Regions from separate parts of the Homo sapiens genome. Here region 2 is linked to region 1. Evidence: promoter capture Hi-C in human tissues and cell types (Jung and others, 2019). All regions are on one chromosome and are shown on one strand. The core of a region is centred on a gene start or on the middle of the fragment in contact, and the rest is flanking DNA. Distances in the headings are between cores, read along the strand shown.

What was found. Contacts are between HindIII fragments. The study calls those that stand out against the background at their distance.
Region 2: a contact is called between a fragment that was not itself captured here and the fragment with the promoter of PDZD7 in region 1, in 1 of the 25 tissues and cell types used here (lymphoblastoid cells).

Annotation. Positions count from the first base shown.
Region 1 is chr10:101,025,866-101,032,378 of GRCh38, reverse strand. PDZD7 (PDZ domain containing 7) reads left to right here and starts at 1,250. Exons shown (of 17, transcript NM_001195263.2): 1 at 1,250-1,306; 2 at 1,995-2,385. The coding sequence starts at 2,160. SFXN3 (sideroflexin 3) reads right to left here and starts at 1,145. Exons shown (of 12, transcript NM_030971.6): 1 at 845-1,145; 2 at 1-65. RefSeq lists an enhancer at 623-832. The HindIII fragment of the contact is 6,870 bases long and covers 1-2,209 here.
Region 2 is chr10:101,424,446-101,430,873 of GRCh38, reverse strand. BTRC (beta-transducin repeat containing E3 ubiquitin protein ligase) reads right to left here. Exons shown (of 15, transcript NM_033637.4): 2 at 422-529. Among named protein-coding and RNA genes, the nearest start is that of BTRC, 73 kb to the right of the region's middle. The HindIII fragment of the contact is 4,349 bases long and covers 55-4,403 here.

The DNA.
Region 1 (6,513 bases), core at 1-2,500:
ACCAGCAGGGAGGGGCAGGAGCTTCCCGGCCGCGCCCACCCGGTGGGCACGGGGATTGGCAGAACCTGAGGGCGGTGGGTGTCATTCGAGGCGATGCCCCCAGCCTGGGCCACCTGGACCAGGCCCTAAGCTGCTTCCCAGAGCCAATCCCACCTCGGGGATCAGTTCTGGCCCCCTCCCCAGCCAAAGGGAGGAGGGGCTGGAGCCGCGGGCGCTGCTCCCTTGGTTTACAGTCCCCTGGCGGGCCTCAGCAGACCCCCAGCCCTGCAGCAAGCGGTCTAGGTGCCCAGAGAGAAAGCCCCGGGCGCAGGTGGGCGGTGTGGAGGGGCGGTCCTCTGCTGGCGCGCCGGGAGGGACTCGGGTTACCGCCTGGCTTGTTTACTTGATGGCTGCCTTGGCAATGGCCTTTGGCTTGCTTGTCCCCCTGGGCTCCTACCCCAGTATCCACAAGCTCCTCTTGTAGCAGCGCGGCATTCGCATCACTTCACAGCCCCGTTCCTGTCGTGCCTGTGCCTCTTCTATGTCCCCAGCCCTCTCCCTGCTCCCCCTCTGTAACCCCTAGCTCCACTGTGTCCCTGGTCTCCTTACGCTCCCAACCCCTAGCCCTGCACCCCAGACCGTAGCCCCACCCCTGAGATGTGGAGGGGCAGACGACCCCAGGAACCTCGCGGTCTGCATCCGAGCAAGTGCATCAGAAGGATTCTTAGGATTCTTCCGGTCCTGGGACCAGCTGCCCCACCCTGCGACCATTCCAGAACTGGGTAGCCAGAGACGCCTTCTGACAGAGGAGGAGGATGCAAGTGAAGAAGGCACCCCCTCCGCCACGCACATACTCACAACTCACCCAGCCACCACACAGAGCACGCCTGCAGCAAACTCAGGCTCACGTCCCGCTCTGCCCCGTGACGTCCCTCCACGGAGGCCTCAAGGGTGCCCAGGGAGGGGTGGCAATTCCAGGAGCCCCGGTAGCTGGCTCGGCTCAGAGAAGAGGTGGTTCGAGCCGGAGGGGAACAAGCCAGACCCAAGCCCTAAATTTGCGGAATGAGCTAGGGCGTCAGAACCAGAACTGGGGTGGGTAAAGAACTCCGCTGCCCGGGACCAGGTAACGCTCGGCTGTCCCTGGCGCCTAAGGGAGGTGCCGGAATAGAATGACTGGCGGCCCTACCAGCCAATGGGAGCCCGGGGCGGTGCAGGCCAGCCCAATTCCCGCAGCCTCCGCGCAGCGTGGGTGGGGTTTGCCGGCTGCGGCAGTAGCTCTCGCCTGCGGGTGGTTTGACAAGGCTGGCGGCGCCACACCAGCGACCAGGTGAGGCCGACCAGGCACAAAGGGGTGGGGGGCCTGGAGGGCCGAGTTGATGTTGGGGTGCTTCATTCTAGGTCCCAGAGCTTCTCTGAGGGAACTGGCCCTGGGTTTTGCGCGGGATGTCGTGGGACCCCTCTCCAGCAGATCCTCCCCAAAGCTTGGGAGAGGTTCATGCAGCCTCTTTAGACCCGGAGCCGCAGCCTGGAGCCCGCGGGTGTCTGGGGGTCTTCCTGGGCCTCAGCTGTCTAAGGTCCTGAAGCCCTATCCTCGAGGCCCAGCCCGCCCCACGCAGCCCCCGCCCCACCCCGGGCCACCTCCATGCCCGCATATGCATGAGAGAGGTGATGCCATGAGCTGTCCTGACCTCTCTTTTGTCTCACACCTCTCTAAGCCCCAGGGCCCGCAGTAATCCCAACTCCACTCTCAACCTCTACTGAGGACTGGGGACGGGAGTAGATGACTCAGCCCCGAGCAGGAATGAGGGGTGAAAGGTTCCCACCTGCCTTGTATAAAGTCAGCGAGAGTCCAAGATGGTGCCTGGACGGGGCAGTTCTCTGGCCTAGGGTGAGACAGGAGGGGGGCCTAAGGCATGGGAGGGCAGGATGCTTAAACCAGGGGGAGGGGTGGAAGTTTTAGGGGGCAGCAGGGGAAACATTTACACCCCTCCCTCATCCCTGCTCTCCCTGCCCAGGCCTGGAGCTCACACTTCTGAGAGGCATCGCAAGCGAGGGCCTTCACGTTACTGAGACCCCAGCCCCGCACAGAGGCTCATGGAGCTCGAAGCACGCAGGGCTGGCCTCTCCAGAGCTAGCAGATTCCTTCTGGACCTGTAGGGTGCCGCCCTAGCCCAGCCGCCATGGCGCAGGGTTTCGCAGTGGGCTTCGACCCACTGGGCCTAGGAGACCTGAGCTCCGGCTCTCTGAGCTCCCTCTCCTCCCGAGGCCACCTAGGCAGCGACTCAGGCTCCACCGCAACGCGATACCTGCTAAGGAAGCAACAACGGCTGCTGAACGGGCCCCCCCGCGGAATCCGAGCCTCATCGCCCATGGGACGCGTCATCCTCATCAACTCCCCCATCGAAGGTAGGGGCGGGACCCAGCCACTGGCCTGGGTTGGGGAGGGTGGGGGTAGGGGACAATGGGAACTCAGCAGGAGGAGGCAGAGCCAGTATGATTGGGGGAATTCAAGAGATGGGAGTCACAGGGAGGTGGCAGGCCGCCTGGGAACCCATACACTCTTCCTCACCTGCCCTTGGCCTCTCCTCCAGGCCAATCCTGCAGGGGTCCAGGGTCGTAGAAGGGTCAGAGGAGGGAAAGAAGGCCATGGCAGCAGGGACAGGCATGCGTGTGGTATGCTAGCCCCTGGTGGACAAGGCAGGGGATTGAACTGGCCTCTCTCCCATGGGCTCTGCCCTTCTCCAGATCCATTGTGTGTACTTCTGGGGGATGGGGCAGGATAAAGAAGGACATCCTCCATCAACCAGTCCATTGTGTGACAAGCTCTGTGCTGGGCTGCGAGGAGTCAGTGCCCAAGCGGGTAGACAGAATTCAGGGCTTCCGTGCTGAAGGAGGGGAATGAAGGCAGCACAGCAAATGTTCAGAAGAGGAGGGTTGAGGGTGGAGAGGGAGCTCCATCAGGGAAGGGGAGACCTAAGCTTATGTAGTTGCTTAATGCCGCTTCATGGAGCACAATTCTATACCAGCCCTGGGGAGGTGTTACAAGGGACCTAGAGAGAAATCAGGCTCCCTCTTCACCTTCCAGGAATCTACAGTGTAGCAGGACAGAGCAATAAGAACAGCTGGTGGCAGGGGTGAGCTGTCACCAACAAAGGCTGGAAGTGAAAAGCATGGAGCATGGTAGGTGGGCACTTAGGAGCCAGCCTGGCTGTAGTGACAGATGTGAGGTGACTAACAGCTGATGAGCAAGACAGGACCTAGAATGCCAGGTGCGGAGCCAGGCCCCCTGAGTCTGAGCTTTCTGTGAGCAGGACCAGATAAATATCTCCAGCTCCTCTCCTCTTTCTTAGCCAGCAGAGCTCCCCTGGCTGGATCCCAGACTGGACTGTTCAGGCCCTGCTCCTCCCCCTCTGACCCAGCAGGGCATCTCTCTTCCCCTCCCTAGGCCACTGGAGCAGGGTGGGGCATGTTGCTCAGGGAGCAGGCTTTCCTCCACCAGTGCCCTGGCACGCTCACCCCTGTCATACACCAGTCTATGCTTCACCCTCTGGTGAGCACAGGGCACTGCTGAGGGTCACCACGGTCATTCTGGTGAGGGAGCAGAAGTCCCCAGAGGAGTTAGGAGACATTGGGGAAAAGGGAAGCAGGCACCGCATAACTGTCTTTATTAGTCCCATTCTATTAAAAGAACTATGCTATACTCCCTCTGATACACTCTTTCTGTTTCTCTCTCTCTCCCCTTCCCTTTGCCCATGTATGATGCAAGCGCTGTTTATAACGTCTTTTTTTTTTTTTTTAAGAGGGAAAGGGTCTTGCTCTGTCGCTCACCCAAGCTGAAGTGCAGTGGTGTGATCATAGCTCACTGCAGCCTCAAACTTCTGGGCTCAAGTGATCCTCCAGCCTCAGCCTCCTGAGTAGCCAGAACTATAGGCATGCAACACCAAGCCCAGCTAATTTTATTTTATTTTATTTTTTGTAGAGACAGAGTTTCACCATGTTGCCCAGGCTGGTCTTGAACTCCTAGGCTCAAGTGATCTTCCGGCCTCAGCCTCCCAAAGTGCTGGGATTATAGGCATGAGCCACCATGCCTGGCCTATACTGTCCCTCTAAAGATCCTCTTCCAGGGGTTTCATGATTGCTTTCTCCCTCTGCCTCATGCTAGCGCCACTGTGCAGCCAAGGAAGCAGCATCTCCTAGCAGTGAGGGACTGAGGAGTTGCTCTGACCACTTGGCTTCTCCTCTGACTGGACTGGGACCCTCTGAGCTCAGAATTCTCCCCTCTGCCTGAGAACAGGTATCTCCCAAGTCACCGCAGCCTGGAACCCTGCCCCATGTTATTATTTAGATCACTCCCGGGGAGTAAAGTAACTGATAAGGAATAAACGGTGACATTGCCACCTACATCGGCCCCATGAGATCCCACCAGCTCCTTAAATTCAACTGGTCCCAGAGAAAATGCATTACCTTTAATCCAGGAAAGCATTACCCTTAATGCATTTCTCCTCACTCTCCTAGTTTGACCATCCATCCATCCATTTATTCTTTCACTTATTCAAAAAAAATACCTATCAAATACCAAGCACTGTCCAACATATTGGAGATATACTAGAAGAGTATTACGAAGTCCCCACCATGATTGAACTTATGGTCTAGTGAAAAGAGACAGATAAATCACAAATAAGCGAACGACGACAAAGGATGGGAAGAGTCAGAATGTGATCATCTGATGACATGATAGAATGGTGCTTCTCAAACCTCAGATGCCTCAGAATTGCCGGGAAGGCTCATTCAGGGATAGATTGCAGGGCTCAGTCCCAGAGCTTCTGGTCCAGTGGGTCTGTGGTAAAGCGAAGGAATTCCCGTTTTTAGCAAGTTCTCAGATGACACTGACGCTGCTGATCCAGGATTACGCTTTGAGAAGCCCTACAAGAGGTACTCACTGGGAGGAAGGGAGGACACTCCAGGAAGCCTTCTCCAAGAAAGTGGTGTCTGAGCCAGGAGGGGAACGAGGAAGAGGAGCTGACCTTCTAAAGGCCTGGGCAGGAGCACTGCAGGCAGAGGGAACACTGGAAGGGCTTGGCCTCCATGAGGAACAGGAAGATCAGTGTGGCCAGAGCTCAGTGAGGGAGGGGAGGGTGGAGGGGAGGGCGGAGGGGTGGGCAGAGGAAAGCCCAGGCAGGGCCTTATAGGGCATGGTGAGGAGACTGGAGTTCTAGAAGCAGGAACAGGTGTTGAAGTTTTTAATCAGGGAAAAGACATGAGCTAATGTAAAAGCTGACTCTGGGTACTGTATAGAGAATAGCTAAAGGCGGCAAGAGTGGAAGCAAGGATAGTGCCGGGGCTGCAGTGGAGCACCTGGGGGAGAGGCTGGGGCAGTGGAGGTAGAGAAGATTCCATCCTTGCAGGGCTCAGGCTCCTGGAAAATCTCAGATTTCACATTCCCTGACCTAGGGCCCTAGGGAGGCCCCAGTGAGGCCCTGAGGAGAGAGGGTTGGTAGCAAGGGAGTAAAAGGCTCCTTGGCTAAGGCTGAAAGTGTCCTGAGATCTGTGTAATCTAATCAGCTGGGAAAGCCCTGGCCCCCCACATCTGTCCTGCACCACCCCTCCCCCCAGGCTGCCCTCGGGGATTTCTTTCTGAGCTGCCCTGGCCGTGCCCTGTAACCTGACTTCTCTTAGATCAAATTGAAGTGTGTGTGTGTGTGTGTGTGTGTGTGTGTGTGTGTGTGTGTGTGTGTGATTTCTCCCTGTCAAACACCTCTAGAGTAACCCTTACCTATGAAGAAATCTCAGCTTCTCACCTGGGACCCAACTTACCCCTCCAGCCTTCTTGCTTTTCTGTAACTGGAAGGCCTCCTCAAGGGCCCACAGCTGAGCCTCCCTGGCTCTTTCCCCCTCATCAGTGCCCCCCCTTACCCCCCACCCATCAAAATCCCACCCATCAGAGTCCTTACAGAAACCTTACCTGGCCTGGGCAAGGTGGCTCACACCTGTAATCCCAGCATTTTGGGAGGCCGAGGCAGGTGGATCACTTGAGGTTAGGAGTTCGAGACCAGCCTGGCCAACATGGTGAAACCCTGTCTCTACTAAAAGTACAAAAATTTGCCCGGCATGGTGGCACATGCCAGTAATCCCAGCTACTAGGGAGGCTGAGGCAGGAGAATCGCTTGAACCCAGGAGGTGGAGGTTGCAGTGAGCCAAGATTGAGCCATTGCACTCCAGCCTGGGAGAAGAAGCGAGATTCCGTCTCAAAAAAAAAAAAAATTCTTCCCCGACAGGTTCAACCTTTAGGAACCCCCTTCCCCGCCTACTTTCCCCAGCGTGATGGAGAGGGCCGCCTTGGGCACATACGTATTGCAGTGTGGTGTGGTCTGGGGTTTCTTTCCCTTTGTAGCCAGGTAGTTCCTAGAACTCTGACTTCCAGAATCACAGAGTCTAACAGATGGGAGGACCCTCAGGGATTCCATAACATCCCAGACAGAGATTTGCTGGGTCCCAGCTTGCATGCCTCCAAAGATGGGAGGCTTACTATCTGTC
Region 2 (6,428 bases), core at 980-3,479, 400 kb before region 1:
TATACTTTGAGTAATCATTTAAAAAAAATAAGAAAATGTTCAGGAAACTGATTGTAATTAATTGATTGATTATACTAATTGGCTTTATGTAGGTCCAGAGCAAATATTACGTATTGAACTGCTATTTATTGAGATTACTTTAAAATCTACTATCATACTTCTACTTGATCTGAAAGCCAACAGTCAAGCTGTACTATGTCAATTTTTGTAACCAATCATGATGACATTGTCTTAAGAGTGGATCAGTCTGGGTCTACATTATAAACTAATCATTAAAGGAGTACTGAGTGATGTGAGATACAGGCAATATGAAGGAGAAAAGATGAATATAAGTAAAGTATGGGAAAGGAGGAGGCACATACTAATGAATTAGACACATACACTAATGCCCGCAAATAACCCACAGAGACAGAGAAAGTACCTGGAAAGCTGTGAGTGCGCCAGTCCCTGGGTTATACAGGCATCGCAGCGAAGGCATGCTGTCCGCCAGGCTGGAGCAGCCCAGCCACAGAGACCTGGGCATAGAGCACTGCAGAGAGAGGACAACTATGAGATGGGACAGTATGAGACAGGATGGCACAGATTACAGGAATTTTTAAGGCTTGGCTGAACGCAATATTCCAGTTGCAGCTGACCTTTATGATAGAAACATCTTTAAGAAACACACTACTTACTGGCTTTAACCCCAGAGAGAATCCCAAAAGGGGCAGTAGTGGCCAAAAGGAAAGGAGGTAAAAAAAGAAGTTATCGTTCAAAAAACCAAACATTTAGTCAAAAACATTTTGTCCCTATTCTTCTATGTATCAGTCTAAAGGAAATCTACTTCTTAATCCAGTTGATCAATTATTTTCCTCTATGCACCTCAACTCAGCTCCCATAAACTCACCACAGGGTGTAATACTGTGCAGACTAAGCAGAAAGAGGAGGAGTTCACAGAAACATTACAATATTAGGAATGGTAAATTAGAAAACAAAACACCACAGTTAAGAGAGTTTTTTTTTTTTTTAGAAGGAAAAGAAAAAGTATTGTATCCCTACGGCTTTGACAGCAACAAACTCTGCACAGTTTGCGTATGTTTTATGTATCTTGTTAGTCTGCTATTCATTAACCAAAATGCACAGTTACCATAGCAGCTGCCTCTTCATCTTTCCAGATGGATTGGGGTCTGTGGGGGGTGGGGGGTATAAGGCGAGGGGAAGAAACAACCCAAACAGAAGGGAAAACAACAACAAAGAGAGACAGGGACACAGAGAGAGAGAAAGGAGAGACAGAGAAAAAGGAGAGAGAAAAGAGAGAGAAAGGAGAGAGAGAGAAGAAGAAGAAAAAGGAGGAGGAGGAGGAGGAGGAAGGGAGGGAGGGGAGGGGGGGAGGGGAGAGGAAGAGGAAGAAGACGACACCTAGAAAGCTGTTGGTATTAAAACCTTCTAAACAAACAAACAAAAATACCTAAGAATGTACATATATATAATACATATGGTATATTCAGTAGTCAAAAAAGGTAGAAATTACACATTTCTAGTAGCTCTAAGTAACTGACATTAGTATTATTGCAGCTACAGCTTTGTAAGAAAGAAACCATACTTTTCAAAACTATTTTTATATTCTTCATGTTTCTCTAAAAGTATCCCAGGATGAAATTTTATCCATCAACTTGAGTGCTATTACAGTCTAATAATAACTAAAAAACTAAATACCTAATCATGGCACATATAAAAACAGGGATACATATTTTAAAATATAGTAGTCAATATAGGTAACATTAAACCTTAAAATTACAGACTTTGAAATATTTTATATTGTCATAGACTTTTTTCTCCTTAAAACAATATAGTTGTAGAAAGTAATATTGGGAAACAAAATATGGTATTCACTGTTTACACCATCTAAAATTGATAAATGGACAATGAGAGCCATGCAAGAGGTTTGTGCCTGTGGTCCAAGCTACTCAGAAGACTGAGATGGGTGGATCGCTTGAGCCCAGGAGTTCAAATCCAGCCTGGGCAGCACAGCAAGATCCCGTCTCTTATCTAAATAAAGATAGATAGATAATGGGCTGCAAATAAATCCAAAGGAGATCTATGTATATCCCCTGATTTTAGATTATTATCCTCATTTTATTTACCACCCATAGGACTACGCTTAATACATTATCCTCATTTTATAGGTAAGGTGACTGATGCCCAGGAAAAATTAAGTATTTATCCATGATTATGAATTTACAAAGTAGGGAAGTAGGGACTAGAATCTTGGCCTGTTGCTTTCTAGTGCAGAATTCTTCCTCCTGCCTCCATCCATCCCTCAGTCATAAAGTGGACACTGGGCTTCAAAAGAAGGGTATCTGCTAAAGGCATCACCAGATAACATACCAAGCAAAACAGCTAAACTGCTTTGAATTACTCCAACAATCTCTGAACTTTGTTCACTGTTTTCAACGTTTCCTCACCTCAAGCTACGATCCATTTTATAAACAGCAGCTAAATAGAAAAATAATTGTCTTCACTTTGTTATCATGTCACTCTCATCAATAATTCATGATGAGATATCTACTGTATGAAATCCAAGCACTCTGTCAATCTGACATTTCCCCCACTGCCAACATCAACTCACCTTCTCTAATCTTCTAATTGGCCCTGGCACTCTAGCTAACTACCTACCTTGATATTTTGTTCAAATACTCATCTTACCCCTGTCTTTAAACTTATAATTTCCTTCTCCCTGTCATCCTGCCAATCCATATCGACCATTTACATCAATATCTCCTTAGAATTATGTATACTAATTTCAGTCTCTGCCAGCGGTTCTTAATAGCAGAGATTCTCACATTGGAAGGAGAAGGCAACAGAAAGAGAATGGAGAAAATAGGGTAAAAAAAGCTTCCTTGCTGTTGAGAATCACATTCTACTCATATTACTTCTTTATACGTATTAAGAATGCTTTGCTAATTTTTTAAGTAAATGATACTAAAATTTTCTTAAGGCTAATATTTTAATCATTTATTCAATAAATACTTATTAAATGCTGTTCTGGTAGTAGACACTGTCCTGGAGCCAGATGTGGTGGCTCAATCCTATAATCCCAGCACTTTGGGAGGGCGAGGCAGGTGGATCCCTTGAGCCTAGAAGTTCAAGACCAGCCTCAGTAATGTGGGAGACCCCATCTCTACAAAAAATTTAAAAAATAGCTGGGCATGGTGGCACATGCCTGTGGTCCTAGCTACTTGGGGAGGCTGAGATGGGAGGACTGCTTGAGCCAGGGATATCAGGGCAGCAATGAGCGGTGATCATGCCACTGCACACCAGCCTGGGCAACAAAGCAAGACCCTGTGGAAAGAAAGAAGAAAGAAAAGAAAGTAAGAGAAGAAAGAGAAGAAGGAAGGAAGGAAGGGACCCGTCTCAAAAAAAAAAAAAAAAATCCTTAACATAAAAGTAACTCATTGTTATAAGAAATGCTGTACACAGGCTGGGCACGGTGGCTCACGCCTGTAATCCCAGCACTTTGGGAGGCCAAGGTGGGTGGAACACAAGGTCAAGAGATCAAGACCATCCTGGCCAACACGGTGAAACCCCATCTCTACTAAAAATACAAAAATAAGCTGGGTATGGTGGTGCACGCCTATAGTCCCAGCTACTCAGGAGGCTGAGGCAGGAGAATCGCTTGAACCCGGAAGGCGGAGGTTGCAGTGAGCTGAGATTGTGCCACTGCACTCCAGCCTGGCGACAGAACAAGACTCCGTCTCAAAAAAAAAAAAAAAAAAAAAAAGAAAGAAAAAAGAAATGGAAATGCTGTACATACGCAATTGGTTAAGTTTCTGTGTGTGCTGGGTAGAAAAAAATCTCACAGTCATTCGGAAGGAAAGATTGAATCTGAGAAAAAAGAGAAGTCAGAAGTGGGTGTAAATAAATAGAGCATGAAAACACAGGAAAAGGACAAAGGAAATAGTGGAAGAAAATCGAGGAGGCACTGGAAGGTAGCTTGTCGCTTCTCCTGCTTCCCTTCACAAGAGGGCAGGCGACACTTTTAACCATACTAAAGCCACCTGCATGGCATACAGCAAGCACAGCTGGGTCTAGAAACCAACCAGAACCCTTTCATTCACAGACTTGGGGCTCTTTTTAAAATTAAAATATACATATTTATTTTTGTGAATGCTCCTTGGTAAGTTTTTAAGGCTTTCCTCTTGTGAATGATTTGTCTCCTCCGTTTTACATAAAAATCTGCGTTATTTTTGTAGTATGTACTTGATAAATTATCTGAGTTTACTTACTCGTTCTAACACACTTCCTCATTCATTTATCCCTATCCTCCATCAAAACTACTAACAACAAAGAATTTGAAAGTGCTTACCCCATCCCCTTAAACTAAAATTCCCAAAGAAAATTATAATCAGTAATGAGCCACATACACCCAGGAAAGCCACTAGATATACCGGTGTGATTTCCAAAATAGCATTAATTTGCAAACACCACACAGAGGATGCATTCCCGATTATTACAAGACAATTGGTATGGGTATGAAAACTATACTTGAATATAGTCAGATCTGCACATTACCATAAGATTTTATATATTATGGCTCAATTTAAAAACTAATCTTCAAATTGGTTTGTTTTGTAACAATTAATCTTATCTATACTGGTAAATGCCACTTAACACTGAGAAAAAATATTATTACAAAATAAATGGAGTGGGCTATAACTTTTACTCTACCTGTTTCCCTTCTATCTTCACATTTAGAAGCATTTCGTAAAAGAAGGAGAAAATAGCAAATTTGGGCAATGAGGAACAAAGTGGAAAGGACTGTCATTTTGGTTACTATCCTTATTAAGTCTATACATTTCAGGGCCATTCTGATTGGTCAGTTTCTGACAAATATGTAAGATGTTTTCTGTCCTTCAACATTTAATAAATAATGCCCTTTAAAATTTACCTTTAAAATACCTGAAAAGCACATAGTTTTCTACTTAAAGTTTGGACTGTTTTTGTTGTTTTTCCTTGCAAATTATATTTAAATTCCTAAAATTTTCTTTCTATACTTAATTTTTTTTCCCTTTCTTTCCTTTTATTGAGACAGAGTCTCACTCTCTTGCCCAGGCTGGAGTGCAGTGGCACGATCACAGCTCACTGCACCCTTGACCTCCTGGACTTAAGCAATCCTTCTGCCTCAGCCTGCCCAGTAGCTGGGACTACAGGCGTGCACCACCACGCCTGGCTAAAAAACATTTTTTTTAATTAAAAAAAAAAAAAAAAGCAGGTTTTAAACTAAGCAGCAACTACGCATTCTCCTGTTTAAATATTTACCTTCTGTTAACTGTTAAATAACTTGCAAATCACCTACTCCTTACATGCAGTCTCAAAAGCTATGACAAAGTTAACAGATAATGACTGCATCCTACACAAATCCAGCCCTGCACAGCACATATTAGTTTCTTCAGCTCAGTTCCCACCTAACGTCACCCCAATTGACTCTCCTTTGCAAAATCAAAGAAAGTTGAAGAGTATAACAATGTATTATAATTGTTGTTATCCAACTGAATGACTTCACTAGCCTTTAAAAAGCATACACAGCACAGAAAAAAATAAGACTGAACATGTTTTCTACTACCTGAATCAGAAAAAAAATTGAAATGCTGCAATGCGATAGTAAAGACACAGAATCAACCCAGGTACCCATCAACGGAAGACTGGATAAAGAAAATGCAGTACACATATACCATGGAATACTAAGTAGCCATAAAAAATAATGAAATCATGTCCTCTGCAGAACATGGATGCAGCTAGAAGCCATTATCCTAAGCGAACTAATGCAGAAACAGAAAACCAAATGCCACATTTTCTCACTTATACATAGGAACAAAACCTTGAGTACACATGGACATAAAGAAGGGAACAGACACTGAGGAATACAAAAGGTGGGAGGACAAAGGGGGTAAAGCTTGAAAAAACTACCTATGGGTACTTTGCACTCTCTACCTGGGTGAGATTCACTCAGACTCCAAACCTCAGCATCGTGCAGTATATCTCTGTAACAAACCTGCACATATACCCCAATTTTAAAATAAAAGTTGAAAAAACAAGATTGCAATGAAGGGCCTCCAGTGCTTCAAGAAGAATATAGTATCTAGTGCCCATCAGGTTCAATGGCACAATTCATTTACACAGAGAACACTGAAAATCTCAACTCTTCCCCCTACACTTGGCTGTCTGGAGTAATGTCACAGATCCTCTTCACTGATAGCCCTGCAGGCAAAGGGCTAGCCTCAGCATTTACTATACGAAAGCTGAATGACAAAATCTCCTAAATTAAGGTCCCTGTTGGTCAACTTCTAGGAGTAACAGAAGCTATAATAATCAACAATAAAAAGATTGCTGTACTGAGAGTTTACGTATCCTTAAGCCATGGAATAGAAGAATTCCCTTTTCACTACTAT